Linked DNA regions of Homo sapiens: region 2 is linked to region 1. Evidence: promoter capture Hi-C in 16 types of primary human blood cells and fetal thymus (Javierre and others, 2016). All regions are on one chromosome and are shown on one strand. Each heading gives the region's core, a stretch centred on a gene start or on the middle of the fragment in contact. The rest is flanking DNA. Distances are from core to core; before and after follow the strand shown. Region 1 holds the start of FGD6 (FYVE, RhoGEF and PH domain containing 6). Region 2 overlaps APAF1 (apoptotic peptidase activating factor 1).

The links. Contacts are between HindIII fragments. The CHiCAGO score rates a contact against its expected background, and 5 or more counts as called.
Region 2: a contact is called between a fragment that was not itself captured here and the fragment with the promoter of FGD6 in region 1, in 2 of 17 cell types (total CD8 T cells and naive CD4 T cells). The highest score is 7.8, in total CD8 T cells.

Annotation. Positions count from the first base shown.
Region 1 is chr12:95,214,966-95,221,523 of GRCh38, reverse strand. It overlaps FGD6 (FYVE, RhoGEF and PH domain containing 6), which reads left to right and starts at 4,057. Exons shown (of 21, transcript NM_018351.4): 1 at 4,057-4,299. The coding sequence starts at 4,284. It overlaps VEZT (vezatin, adherens junctions transmembrane protein), which reads right to left and starts at 3,717. Exons shown (of 12, transcript NM_017599.4): 1 at 3,638-3,717. The coding sequence starts at 3,673. RefSeq lists enhancers at 2,849-2,898, 3,499-3,738, 3,203-3,798, 3,799-4,393 and a silencer at 3,969-4,198. The HindIII fragment of the contact is 2,300 bases long and covers 2,617-4,916 here.
Region 2 is chr12:98,646,328-98,652,469 of GRCh38, reverse strand. It overlaps APAF1 (apoptotic peptidase activating factor 1), which reads right to left. Exons shown (of 27, transcript NM_181861.2): 2 at 3,973-4,151; 3 at 3,655-3,844; 4 at 2,786-2,983. The coding sequence starts at 4,110. Among named protein-coding and RNA genes, the nearest start is that of APAF1, 4.1 kb to the right of the region's middle. RefSeq lists an enhancer at 1,908-3,107. The HindIII fragment of the contact is 1,784 bases long and covers 2,620-4,403 here.

The DNA of each region.
Region 1 (6,558 bases), core at 2,808-5,307:
CTTACTCTGTCACCCAGAGCAACCTCCGCCTCCTGGGTTCAAGCGATTCTCATGCCTCAGCCTCTGGAGTAGCTGGGACTACAGGTGCATGCCACCATGCCCAGCTAGTTTTTGTATTTTTTAGTAGAGACTGGGTTTCGCCATGTTGGCCAGGCTGGTCTCAAACTCCTAGCCTCAAGTGATCTGCCTGGCTTAGCTTTCCAAAGTGCTAGGATTATAGGCGTGAGCCACGGTTGGTCCAATCTGCAGATGTGGAACTCTCAGCTAAGGAGGGCCAACTGCATCTCTAACAAAGGACTTGTATCCAGTGTATGTAAATAATTCCTTCAAATCAGCAAGAAAAAGAAACAACCCAATAGAAAAATATGCAAGAAATTTGACGTGGCTTCACAAAATGGATATACAATTGGCTAATAAACACATTAAAAATCTTAACATCTTTATCAAGAAAATACAAATTAAAACCACAAGGAGATACCAGGACATAGCCCCTAGAATCATAAAAAGAAAAACACTAAAATTAGCAAGGGTTGATGAGGATGTGGGGCAATGGGACCTCTCATACATTCCTGGCTGGAGAATAAACTGGTACAACCACTTTGGAATAAAGTTTGGCAATATCTACAGAAATATCTAGGTATTTGCTATGACCCAGCAATTCCATTCCTACATATATATCCACCAGAAATATGTTTAACCAAACACATACAAAAAGGTTCACAGTAGCACTAGTTTAAACCTGGGAACTACTCAATGACCATTAATAGAAGAATGAATTTAAAAATGATCATATATTCACATGGAATACTATGCCAAAATAAAAATTCTCATGTTAACAATATGGACGAATCTCACAAATAAAGCCAGAGAGGAAAAAAAAAAGTCAGAAATAAGAGAGTATATAAATGGAAATGCACAGTGTCTAAACAATAAAAATAGACAAAATTAATCTAGGTTATTATGTTTAAATAGTGATCATTTTGGGGTAGGGAGTAGTGATGGAAAGGACCAGGAGGGAGCTTCTGGTGTGCTGGTGATGTTGTTTCTTTTTTCATTTTTTATTTTTTTGGGGCAGAGTCTGGCTCTGTCATCCAGGCTGGAGTACAGCGGTGCGATCATGGCTCACTGCAGCCTTGACCTACCCAGGCTCAAGTGATTCTCCCACCTCAGCCTCCCGAGTAGCTGGGACTATAGGCATGTGCCACCACGCCCAAATAATTTTTGTCTTTTTTGTAGAGATAGGGTTTCACCATGTTGTCCAGGCTAATCTCAAACTCCTGGGTTCAAGGGATCCATCTGCCTCAGCCTCCCAAAGTGCTGAGATTACAGGTGTGAGCCACCATGCCCCATCTGTCCCGTTTCTTGATCTGGGTGCTGGTTACATGGGTGTGCTCAACATGTGAAAATATAACCATCCACACACTTGTGATCTGTGCCCTGTCCTTATGTAAATTATACTGCAATAAAAATTGTGTATATCAAAGAGCAAACAAACAGCAAACTGGAAATTTTTCTGCAAGTATGACAAAGGCTTAGTAATATATGAAGAACTCACGCAAGTCAATTTTTTTAAAGCTAGCATCTAATAAGAAAATGAGCAACAAATATGAAGAGAAATGTTCAAAGAAATAAAAATAGCTAATAAATGTATAAATGCATAAAATGTAAATTAAAACAATGGAATGTTATTTTTGCCTATCAAATTAGCAAAGATTAAAGGAAACTGTTAAGGCTGTTGTTGAGGATTTGGTGAAACCAATACTCTCTTATTCTTAATGGAAACCGGAATTGGTATAACCTTTCTGCGTAAGTCTTAAATGTTCATATTCTTTCACCCACTAGTTCTACTTCTAAAAATTATTCTGAGGAAAATCAGAGTTGTAGTTAAAAATAGGCTTATATCACTGTTGATTACAATGGTATTTTTTTAAAAAAAGGTTATATTATGATACACGTGAGGGGATATTATAATATTAATGTTTTCAGAGAATGATGAATGGGAAAAGATTCACGATAAAGTCAAGTGAAAAATATATACAAAATTCTACGTGGTATACCTTTTGTTTTAAAAAATATCACACACACATTGTGTCTTAATATAGAGGCTAAAAAATTACACACACATAAACACACATTTACATAGAAATAAAGTCTATAAGAACACATACCGTACTGTTAATAGTTACCATCTTTGGGTGGTGGGATAATGGATGATTTTAACTTGGGGGCTTATTTTCTACAATAAAATGTTCCTTGAGCATATATTACTATTATATTCAGAAATCAAAAATAATGGGTAAAAAAAATACACCCATCAGTTACCCTTACTCTAGAAAATATTTCTCTCTCCTTCAGCTACCACATTCAATCTATAAACATTGCCTCGATTTTAACTTACAAGTGTCTGTCCAAGCCATTATTCCATTACGTCTCTCATTTCATCTCAGGCCCTTGTCTTCCCTAATGAACGCCTCATATCTAGACTCTTCACTTCGGTAAAATGGCCACATTTTCCACTGCTTCTTCATTGCAGCCACATCAAGCCACTTTACATAGCCACCCTCCACACCCCGCCCCCTAAAAATGCACACCAGGTACTTTCACACTTCCCAAGCTTGGCATAATCAGTTCTCTTTCCCTGTAATACATTTTCTCCTGCCGGTTTTTCTAATCCAATTCATAGTTAAAGATTCACCTCGGATATCGCGTACTGGGTGTAGCCTCTGGGAGGCCGCAAGAACAGAAATTAATCCTTCAATGACAGTTTGTACATATTTCAACATTTAGCATTCTGTCCTGTCTGTGCCTCGCTCTCTCGCTGTATGGCATGGGCCACTTCATTTTTAAATTTTCTTAAAATCTAGTTGGATAAATGAAAGTAAAGCGTATACATGCAATACACATACGTACAGGGGTGCGAGTTTTGACCTGTGTCTGATGGAAAAAAATGGCATCAAAAACACTCGCCCGATTTTTTTCATTCAAGATGGCAGAGAACGTCTTAAAATAGTCCCACACAAAAGCACTCACATCTAGAGCCCCGAGTCAGAAGAACTGGCTACACCTAGCGCAACAGCAAAGGACAAAAGAATCGAATCTAGATGCTGAGATGCCCTGGCCCTAACTACCCACAGTAGGTCCCACAAATAGACTTTAAACCGTGTTAGAAAACGGGCACCTGCTGCCTTCATTCCGAGGGCCACGCCTTGACGGTGAACAGTGACCTGAAGCACTCTGGATACTGACCCAAAAAAATCGCGGATGGAAAAGGAGGAGGCTAAGTTGTGACTATCTAAAAGGCACGATTCGGCCCCGCCCCAGCCGGGCGCAGTCCCCCCCGCCGCACATCCATTCCCAGGAAGGAAGAGACACCGCTCCAGCCCAGAGCCTGGCAACCGGGCACCGTCTGGGAATTCTGGGCGGGCCCGAGATAGAGGCCGGCCACGGCCAGGGCGCCTCTGGCTACACCTGTCAGGCGACGACGGACTCTAGGCCCTGAAATCGCTGGGGTTCGGTGGTCGAGGCCAGCTGGAGCGCGTCACCCGATCCCTCGCCCCGGGAACGCCTTGCTTCCTCGATTTCCGTCTCGTCCTTCTCAAACAAAGGCAATCCACACCCACCGCCATTTTCCTCTTACCTCAAAAACCACCTCTTCGTCAAACTCCGGTGTCATCCTTCTCCGCCATGCCACCCGCCTCAGCACGATGGGAAATGAAGGCGGGAGTACAGGCGGCACGGAGCTCCAGCTCCTGCCCGTCCCGTGGGTCCAGAAAACTACAATTCCCAATATGCCTCGCCGCTCACGCCCCCTTTTCGAGCCCGCTTATTGGAGAAGAGAGTGAGCGTGTAAGCGAGAGAGGCGGGAGCGAGCTGAAGCTCGAGCCCTCCGATTGGAGGAGGCTAGGGCTTTTGTCTGCCTTTTACGGCCGCGACTAGCAGGGGGCGCCCGGAGCACTGCTGATTTTTGGAGCCCGAGAAGGGCACGCGCCAGCGGAGCCGAAGAGAGCACTGCTCGTGCCCGCGCCTGGCTGTCAGCCTGCCGCTCTGCGGGGCGGTGCTAGTGCTCGCCCGCCCGACCCCGGCGGCTCGCGCCCGGGAGCGCCGCAGGGTCGCTAGAGTCGGCCGCGTCCTTTGTGTGGCGCTCAGGCTGCGCCGCGGGGCGGCGGGACGGAATGTGGGCGCTGCGGGGGCTTTTCTCTCCTACCCGAACTGTGGGAACAATGGACTGAAAGGGGAAGATGGATTGAGGGGCCGAGCGGGGAAGCGAGCTGCACCGGGGAATCATGACTTCTGCAGCCGGTAAGTGACGGCGCTCGCGCTGCCGCGGGAAAGTTTGTGGCGAGCGCTGCTAGGCTTGGGCTCGCGAGCAACTTTCTTCGCCGGGGTGGGCGAGTTGTGTGCCCCGTACCTTTGCCGAGCACCTCGGCAAGCGCGGAGCTAATGGGATTCGCTGCCGGCTTTCTCGTCTTTTCCTGCCCAGAGGGGCTGTTTGGAAACCCGGGATTTCTCGGGATCTCCCTTCCAAGGGGGACTGTGCTGGGGGCTCTGCACCAGGTGAAATGCGATGTGTGAAGGGCGTTCGCTCATCTCTCCAGCAGTGCGAGGACTTCGCCTTTGCATGTGAAAATAGTGTAGATTCCCAAGTTAATAGATCAGTTATTATAGGTAAAGGCAGTGTTCTCAGCGTGTTCAATTTGGCCACTAAGTGAGTCGCTTTCAACCTTGTATCTGCTGGTAAACCTTTTACCCATTTTAAAGAGGCGTAGACATTGTCATGTCCTGGTGGTTTTACCTCTGTTACCTGAGAAGCAGAGGAGTTGAGATTGTTGAGGTTTTTTTTTTTTTTTTTTTTTTGCTTGTCTGCACCCAATTACAATTATTTTGTTTGTTTCTACCTGATTAGGGTAAACAAAGCTTTATTTTCTGTCTGCCTCCCATAGTTCTTTCCCCTTCATCCAAATGACAAAGCCTCTATCTTTGTGTGGATTTTCAGCAATTCTAGACGTTGTGTTTCTGAACATTCTTAAGGAACAATTTCTGTTTTACAAAATAATTACCAAAGTGGTGTTACGTTCACTTCGTAAGTACATAGGTTAATTTTTAAACCAGAACTTATGTATTAAGTAGAGTGTTATGGGTTATTTTACGTTTTTGTCCACGTTGAAACTTTCATTAGAAATTTTATAGTGAAATAGTTTAAAGCTTCTTCTCAAGGTTACTTCCAGAATCAGCACTTAAGTATCAGATTAAATTTTCATTGCTTTTCTTGGCATTTGTTTAAAATTCTTGCAACTTGAAACTGTCCAACAGCACTCAAATGTTCTGATTTGTATTATTTCTAAAGCCTAGATATATTGTAGTGTTGCATTGCTCCCTGTGATCAGATTACAACAAACGAAACAAGAAGTTAGCCAATAGGAAAAGAAAGCAAGAAGTGGGTGTTGTGTGGGTCTTTCCTTTTTGATGTTATATGCACTTATATGAGATATCTTTATAAACTCTCTTTTCTTTGCCAAAGGGAGGCTTTATACTTACATAAGGTAAATTATTTTCATCCTACATTTCTGTGCCTTACCTTCGTTCAAGAAATTGATTTAAATTAAAAGTGGTTGGAAATTTTAAAATCCTTCCAGCCAGTTTTAGCTCTTTCCTTTTTGGAGGTGTCAAATGTATTTAAAATAACCGTGTCTTATATGTATCAGTTTTCAATTCCAGTCTTAACAGTTTATAAGGAACAGGCACAGAAGCATGTAATTTCACATTTATGTAAACCCAATTTCTAGGGCCCAGACTGGAAGTTCATGATTCTTGCATTTGAATTATCCTAAAATAATGCAAGCTATTTTTGTATTTTATCAACTTTACAATTAAAGAAATCCACAGAAATTTTTGTGGTGTTTAAAGTGGGACACTTCCTGTGTCTAGCCGAGTTGGTTGGTTTTTAGCATTGCTGGCTGAGAAGCATCAACTACTTTTTTGCTCACCCATCTGTTGGATTTATCATAATTCTTTCTGGTGTCTAGATGGGGAATATGGAAGAGAACTGGGGTTTTATTTCTACCCATTCTTATATGTATACATAGTTCTTACAAGCTGATTATGGTGCTTTTTGGGAACAATAGTCAAATTCATTGAAACGTTTAGGAAAGTTACTTGAAGTTAAGGGAGGGGATTTTTGCTTTTGAATCTAATCTGTGGTATTTGGAAGGGTTGGTTTAATTTAAGAAAATAAAAGGAATGTTGTAGAACATCTAGGTTATATGTATCCAGCAGAAAAGCTTGCTTTGTTTTTCTACATCTATAAAATAATCTGCCCTTAGTGGAGATTTCAGAATTATTTTAAGCTGTATATGAAAAAGGAGAGGCTGGGCGCAGTGGCTCAAGCCTGTAATTCCATCACTTTGGGAGGCCAAGGCGGGTGGATCACTTGAGGTCAGGAGTTTGAGACCAGCCTGGCCAACATGGCAAAACCCTGTCTCTACTAAAAATACAAAAATTAGCCAGGTGTGGTGGGGTGCGCCTGTAGTCCCAGCTATTCGGGAGGCTGATATGAAAATT
Region 2 (6,142 bases), core at 2,262-4,761, 3.4 Mb before region 1:
GCTTATGAAGAAATGTTCAAACTTGAGTTACCAGAGAAATGCAAAGTAAAAGACACAACTTTATAGAAGTTTGCCTGGCAAAAATTACAAAGCTGGATCATACCAACCGTCACTGCACAAGTAGAATTATCGGAGTCCCCATACTCATCTGGGGGAAATGTACAGACTGGAGGGGAATCAAATTTGGTATTTGTATATCCTATCATTTAGTAATTTTGGCTGGACATGGTGACTTTCATCTGTAACCCCAGCACTTTGGGAGGCCAAGGCGGGAGCATCACTTGAGCCCAGGAGTTTGAGACCAGCCTGGACAAGATAGCAAAAACCTGTCTCTACAAAAAAATGTTTAAAAACACACCAAGCATGGTGGCTTACACCTGCAATTCCAGCACTTTGGGAGGCCAAGGTGGGTGAATTGCTTGAGCTCAGGAGTTCGAGACCAACCTCGGTAACATGACAAAACCCCAACTCTACAAAAAATACAAAAATTAGCTGGGTGTGTCAGCATGCACCTGTGGTCCCAGCTACTCCGGAGGCTGAGGTGGGAAGATCACTTGAGCCCAGAAGGCAGAGGTTGCAGGGAGCCAAGATTGTGCCACTGCACTCCAGCCTGGGTGACAAAGCAAGACCCTGTTTCATAAATAAATAATTAGCCAGGCATGGTGGCGTGTGCACCCAGCTCCTCAGGAGGCTAAGGTGGGAGGATCACTTGAGCCTAAAAGTTTGAGGCTGCAGTGAGCTATGATATGGCCACTGCACTCAGCCTGGGCAACAGGGTGACACTCTGTCTCTTTAAAAAAAAACAAAAATAAATAAATAATTACTAATTTTGCTCCTAGCTACAAATACCCAAGAAATTCTTACTCACATAGAAGTTCAACCCAGCTTTGCTGCAGCAGCAGAGAGTTGGATACAATCTACATATCCATTTACTTAGGGTAATGAGCAGTAAAATGGGTTGGTGGCAATCAGGTGTAACAAATAACATGTATACATAGCAACAAGGATAAATCTTAAAAACATTGTGTCATGGGAGATAAAAAACAGAATAATACCATAACATCTATGCAAATTTAAAATACCTGCATACCAACAACATACATATTTTACAAGAGTACACACTTTACACAGACATTTACAAAGAACATACATTAAATACATTAGGATTGTCCATGGAGAGGGGAAAGGAAATAAGAATAGGAAATTTTGAAATGGAAATAAATAAATACAGTGAAAAGCTCAGCCTAGTACAGATCTACTATAATAAGCCGTGAACTAAGGAATATGAATAACTCAGTCCTCTGAACTTGAGATCCCACAAAAGTACGAGGAATATGAATTAAGCTCACATGTACAGTTGCCAGTATCTCTAGGATTTTCTCAAAACAAAGTAGTTAAAACCTGTTCCAAGATAACAATTTATACAATATGACTCCTGAATATTTAATTCCATAGATTGTTAGTCAATTTTAATCCCTAGAATTGAAAATTCATCACAATAATGTAGAGCAATTTAAATGGGGAGAGGGAGTGTTCTTTTAAACCTATAAATTGGAATATTATAAATACACAAAGAAAGTTCATAATATTGAAAGGAAAACTCATTCCTTCACACTAAAGGAACTTAAGCTAAATTTATCCTGAAATATCCTTAGTGATCAACTTTGCAGTAGGGGCTTAAAAAAATCCTTGGCTCTGAGACTTGAAAGGAGCTAAGTCTCAGGAAACTTCTCTGTAATGATAGAGGGGAAAAACCAAGGGTTAGGAATCAGGCATACTTCTGACAAGAGTATAGTCTATACCACTTACAAAGGCTATGAAATTAAACTGAGGCCATGTGTACACATAGATATACCCTAGCCTCCATATTTCTAAGTCTCTTAGAGGCTTACTACTTATTCCAATCATTCTGTCTAAACTGTCTTAACCGTAGATCATGTTATACATACATATCAAAAAAAAAAAAACAAAAAACTTTTTTTTGAGATGGAGTCTTGCTCTTGTTGACCAGGCTGGAGTGCAGTGGTGCGATCTCAGCTCACTGCAACCTCCGCCTCCTAGGTTCAAGTGATTCTCCTGCCTCAGCCTCCCGAGTAGCTGGGATTACAGGTGCTCACCACCACACCCAGCTGATTTTTTTTGTATTTTTGGTAGAGACGGGATTTCACCATGTTGCCCAGGCTGGTCTTGAACTCCTGACCTCAGGTGATCCACGCCTCAGCTGGGATTACAAGCATGAGCCACCGTGCCTGGCCTACTAAAAAAAAAATTATTAACTACTAGAAGTTGGGAACTGTCTTTGAATTCCCCTAGAAGTGTCATACAGAGAGAACACACTGATGAATGAGAACACACTGATGAATGGGGGCAGCCTAGAACTGATGGAGCTATACAACTATTCCTGATGAATACCCTGAGAACCTACCAGGATCGCTAAGGTCAGTGGTATACCTGCCAACATTTCTTAAACCCTCTTCTACCCAGTATGCCCTTCCCCACCCCAGTAACCACCCACTACCTTTCCCACCTTCCCTAGTCTCCCATCCCTACCTTCACTGCCTAGCTAACTTTTATTCTTTCTCCAAACTCCTGCTAAGATGTCATCTCATTCAGGAAGCTTGTCCTATCCATCCCCTCCCTTCAGAGAGTTAACATATCCTTCCTTTGTTCTAACTCTGTACCTTATACTTGTTTCTACCATTCAATTTATCACGTATTGATATATCATAATATTTTTACATGTCTATCTACCTTACTAGACTATGAAATGGACTAAGACACTTACCTTCTAAAAGGGAATGATCTCTAACAGCTTCTGCAGCTAATACAGACTTCCCACAGCCTGCCATTCCATGTATGGTGACCCATCCTGGTTCACCTTTCAATTTGGAGAGCTTCTGCTGAATTGCATTCACCAGCTTCTTCCTTGTGACAAAAACAACTGGCCTCTGTGGTACTCCACCTTCACACAGGACTGTCCTTACTAAAATCCAAAACAAAACAAGCATGAATGAATAGAACTTTGGAATAATTACTGAAGTAATACCATAAAAAACAAAGAGCAAAGCTGAGGCTTAGCCTGAAAATTTCCAAGAGAAGTTAAGAAAATGTGGCTAGCATATTAACTTCAATTTTCTGATTTCTCAGACAACAGAGAGCAAAGACAAACATATATCCTTCAAGATGACTAAAGAAAATGGAAGTTTCTATCTATATCTGCTTTACTCACCCAATTATTTCCTGACTTTTCATTCCCTCTCATATTGAAGACTGGGAAGGCAAGTGTAAAAGGAAGAACATTTATGGAATACCTTTCAAGAACATATATTTCTAAAGATTCTTATTTTTTCCTATAAACTCTATAAACACATAGAACTGGAAAATAAACAAGGGCCTATAAATTGTCTTATTGTCTCTAAAAATTAGGGTAGACATATTATTATCTCAGCAGTACAGTTCACTGGGCAAGAAGAAAAGTTGAGAGTTAATGTGGATGCAAATAAAAAATATTTAAATTGAAAACATCACTACAATTTTTTTAACATGCAGTTTTCAGTGAACTGGTCACACTCTCTTCAAAAGATTACATCTACAATAAGACAAACCCAAAGCAATTTTGATAGCAAAGTGATAGAAGGTATAATGGATACAAACCATACGAAGTTATTCCACTAACTGAATCTTTACCACTGGAAGAAGAGACAACAGGAATGCCATCATGGAGAAGGGCAGCAAGATCTTTATATCCTTCATGTAGTAGAGCATTGTAGAATGATACGTAGGAATCATTATCTTTTTTAAGTATCATTTTAATCAGCATAGCTGCTCTTTGCTGTTGAGTGGGCTAAAAAAAATTAAGTAGTTTAGTATACAACAATGAATATGTATGCAACATAAAGTAGTGGAGACCAGTACAAGTTCTGAAATTCTAAAAATTTTTAAGGAAGTGTGGACTGCTTCAGAGAGCTTTACCTCATTTCTTACTTTTTCCTCTTCTGATATTGTTAAAAATCCATCACTAATCATGTGATCCATGATGTAGGATGTCTTGATGTCCTTTTCCAGAGCTTCTCTATGTTGAAGCAAACAATTTCGAGCTTTTGCATCCATCTTCCCTCAGATCTTTCTCTCTCTGAGCTGTCAACCATGAGCTACAGCCAAAACACCAAAATATTTGTCAGGCCAATAAAAATATGAAAAGATACATAATCTCACTAATAAACAAGAAACGTAAAAAGAACAAAACTGATTTTTTTTCCTTGGCAAAAATTTTTAAATGGACAAAACCCAGTGCTTGGAAAGGTATGAGAAAATGGCCATTCTTATGCACTAATTGGGGAAACTAGAAAATGAATGCAATTTTTCTGGAAAGCAGTAAGATATGGAATTGTTTAAAATAAGCTTTCTCTCTAACCCAGAAATCCCATTTCTAAGGATTTACTTCAAGGAGACATTCAAATACATATGTAAAAATATCCACAAGGAGAATTAATGAGTTTCCAATCAGGTGTGGTAGCTCAAGCCTATAATCCCAGCACATTGGGAGGCTAGAGTAAAAAATAAAAAGAAAAAAGAATTAATGGAGGATGTTTCAGTGATGAACGCAACCTAAATGTCCATCATTCTGAATATAGATTTTAAAAATTAGGGTATGTATATAAAATGGAATATTATGCAGCCATTCAAAATTATGACACATATCTCCATGTATTGACATGGAAAGATGTTCATAATACTGTTGCTGAAAAAAAAAAAAAAAAAAAACAGAAACATGATCCCACATACAACACATAACGTGGGGGCCGGGCGCAGTGGCTCATGCCTGTAATCCCAGCACTTTGGGAGGCCGAGGCGGGTGGATCACGAGGTCAGGAATTCAAGACCAGCCTGGCCAAGATGGTGAAACCCTGTCTCTACTAAAAATACAAAATTAGCCAGATGCAGTGGCAGGTGCCTGTAATCCCAGCTGCTCGGGAGGCTGAAGCAAGAGAACTGCTTGAACCAGGGCGGCAGAGGTTGCAGTGAGCCGAGACCACTCTACTGTACTCCAGCCTGGGCGACAGACTGAGACTCTGTCTCAAAAAAAAAAACAAGTGTTGGTATCATATGAATATATATAGACGTTTAGAAGTTTATTCATCGAAATGTTTGAGTTACTTCTGAGTAGCAAAATTTGGGATTTCTCCCCCACCTTGTCTTATTTTTTTTTTTTTTTTAGTACAGACGGGGTTTCACCATGTTGACCAGGCTGGTCTTGAATTCCTGACCTCAGGTGATCCACCCGCCACAGCCTCCGAAAGTGCTGGGATTACACTTGTGAGCCCCACCATGCCCGGCCTCTACTGTCAATTTTTTTTAGCACACATTATCATTTCTTACAATAAAATACTTCCTTTTTTAATTAAGATTGTATAAAATAGTGATTACATTGAAGTCCTAATATTAAGAGACTTCTTGTTTTCCTTATCAAACATAAGAGTGAATAGAGCATTGTTACTATTGAGTATTAGTTCTCGTTCAAGGAGGATGTCAGCTCTAGGTCCTCCTTGCTAAACACATTTCCCACAAAGCAACAGGAAACACTTTCTGATGTGATTTCTCAGACCAGGAGGACATGAGGAAAGAATAACAGCCTTTATAGTAAAATACTTGACGTTTCTAGCAACTTTATTTCAAATATAATGCAAATTTTTCCATGGGCATAAAACCCAGTTCACAATATCTGCAAGTTTTCAAAACATTAACAGAACTTTACACAATGTATAGAGTGAAAGAGTCTAAACGGGTTTATCAATTCATTCATTCAATACACATTTGTGCCCCTCCCTATATGTCAGACACCAAGACTACAGAAAAGATTGAGTCATTTGCCTGAAATAATTCACAGTCTACTCAAAGAAGAAAAAGAGAGAGAGAGTGGGAATGTGAATGCCCGAAGTGCAAAAACAGAGCACAAGTAACTTGGAGCTCACAGAAGGGGGCAATAATTATCAAGCTTCAATGACTGTTTTTGAAGTCACCAAATGTAGCACTTGGAAAAACAGGGACGGACGTAGGGCATTTGCCTATGCTTGTCAAGGCTTACAAAATGCCCAGCAGGGGCACAAAACTGATAAAAAGTTATTGATTCGAATCAAAACTC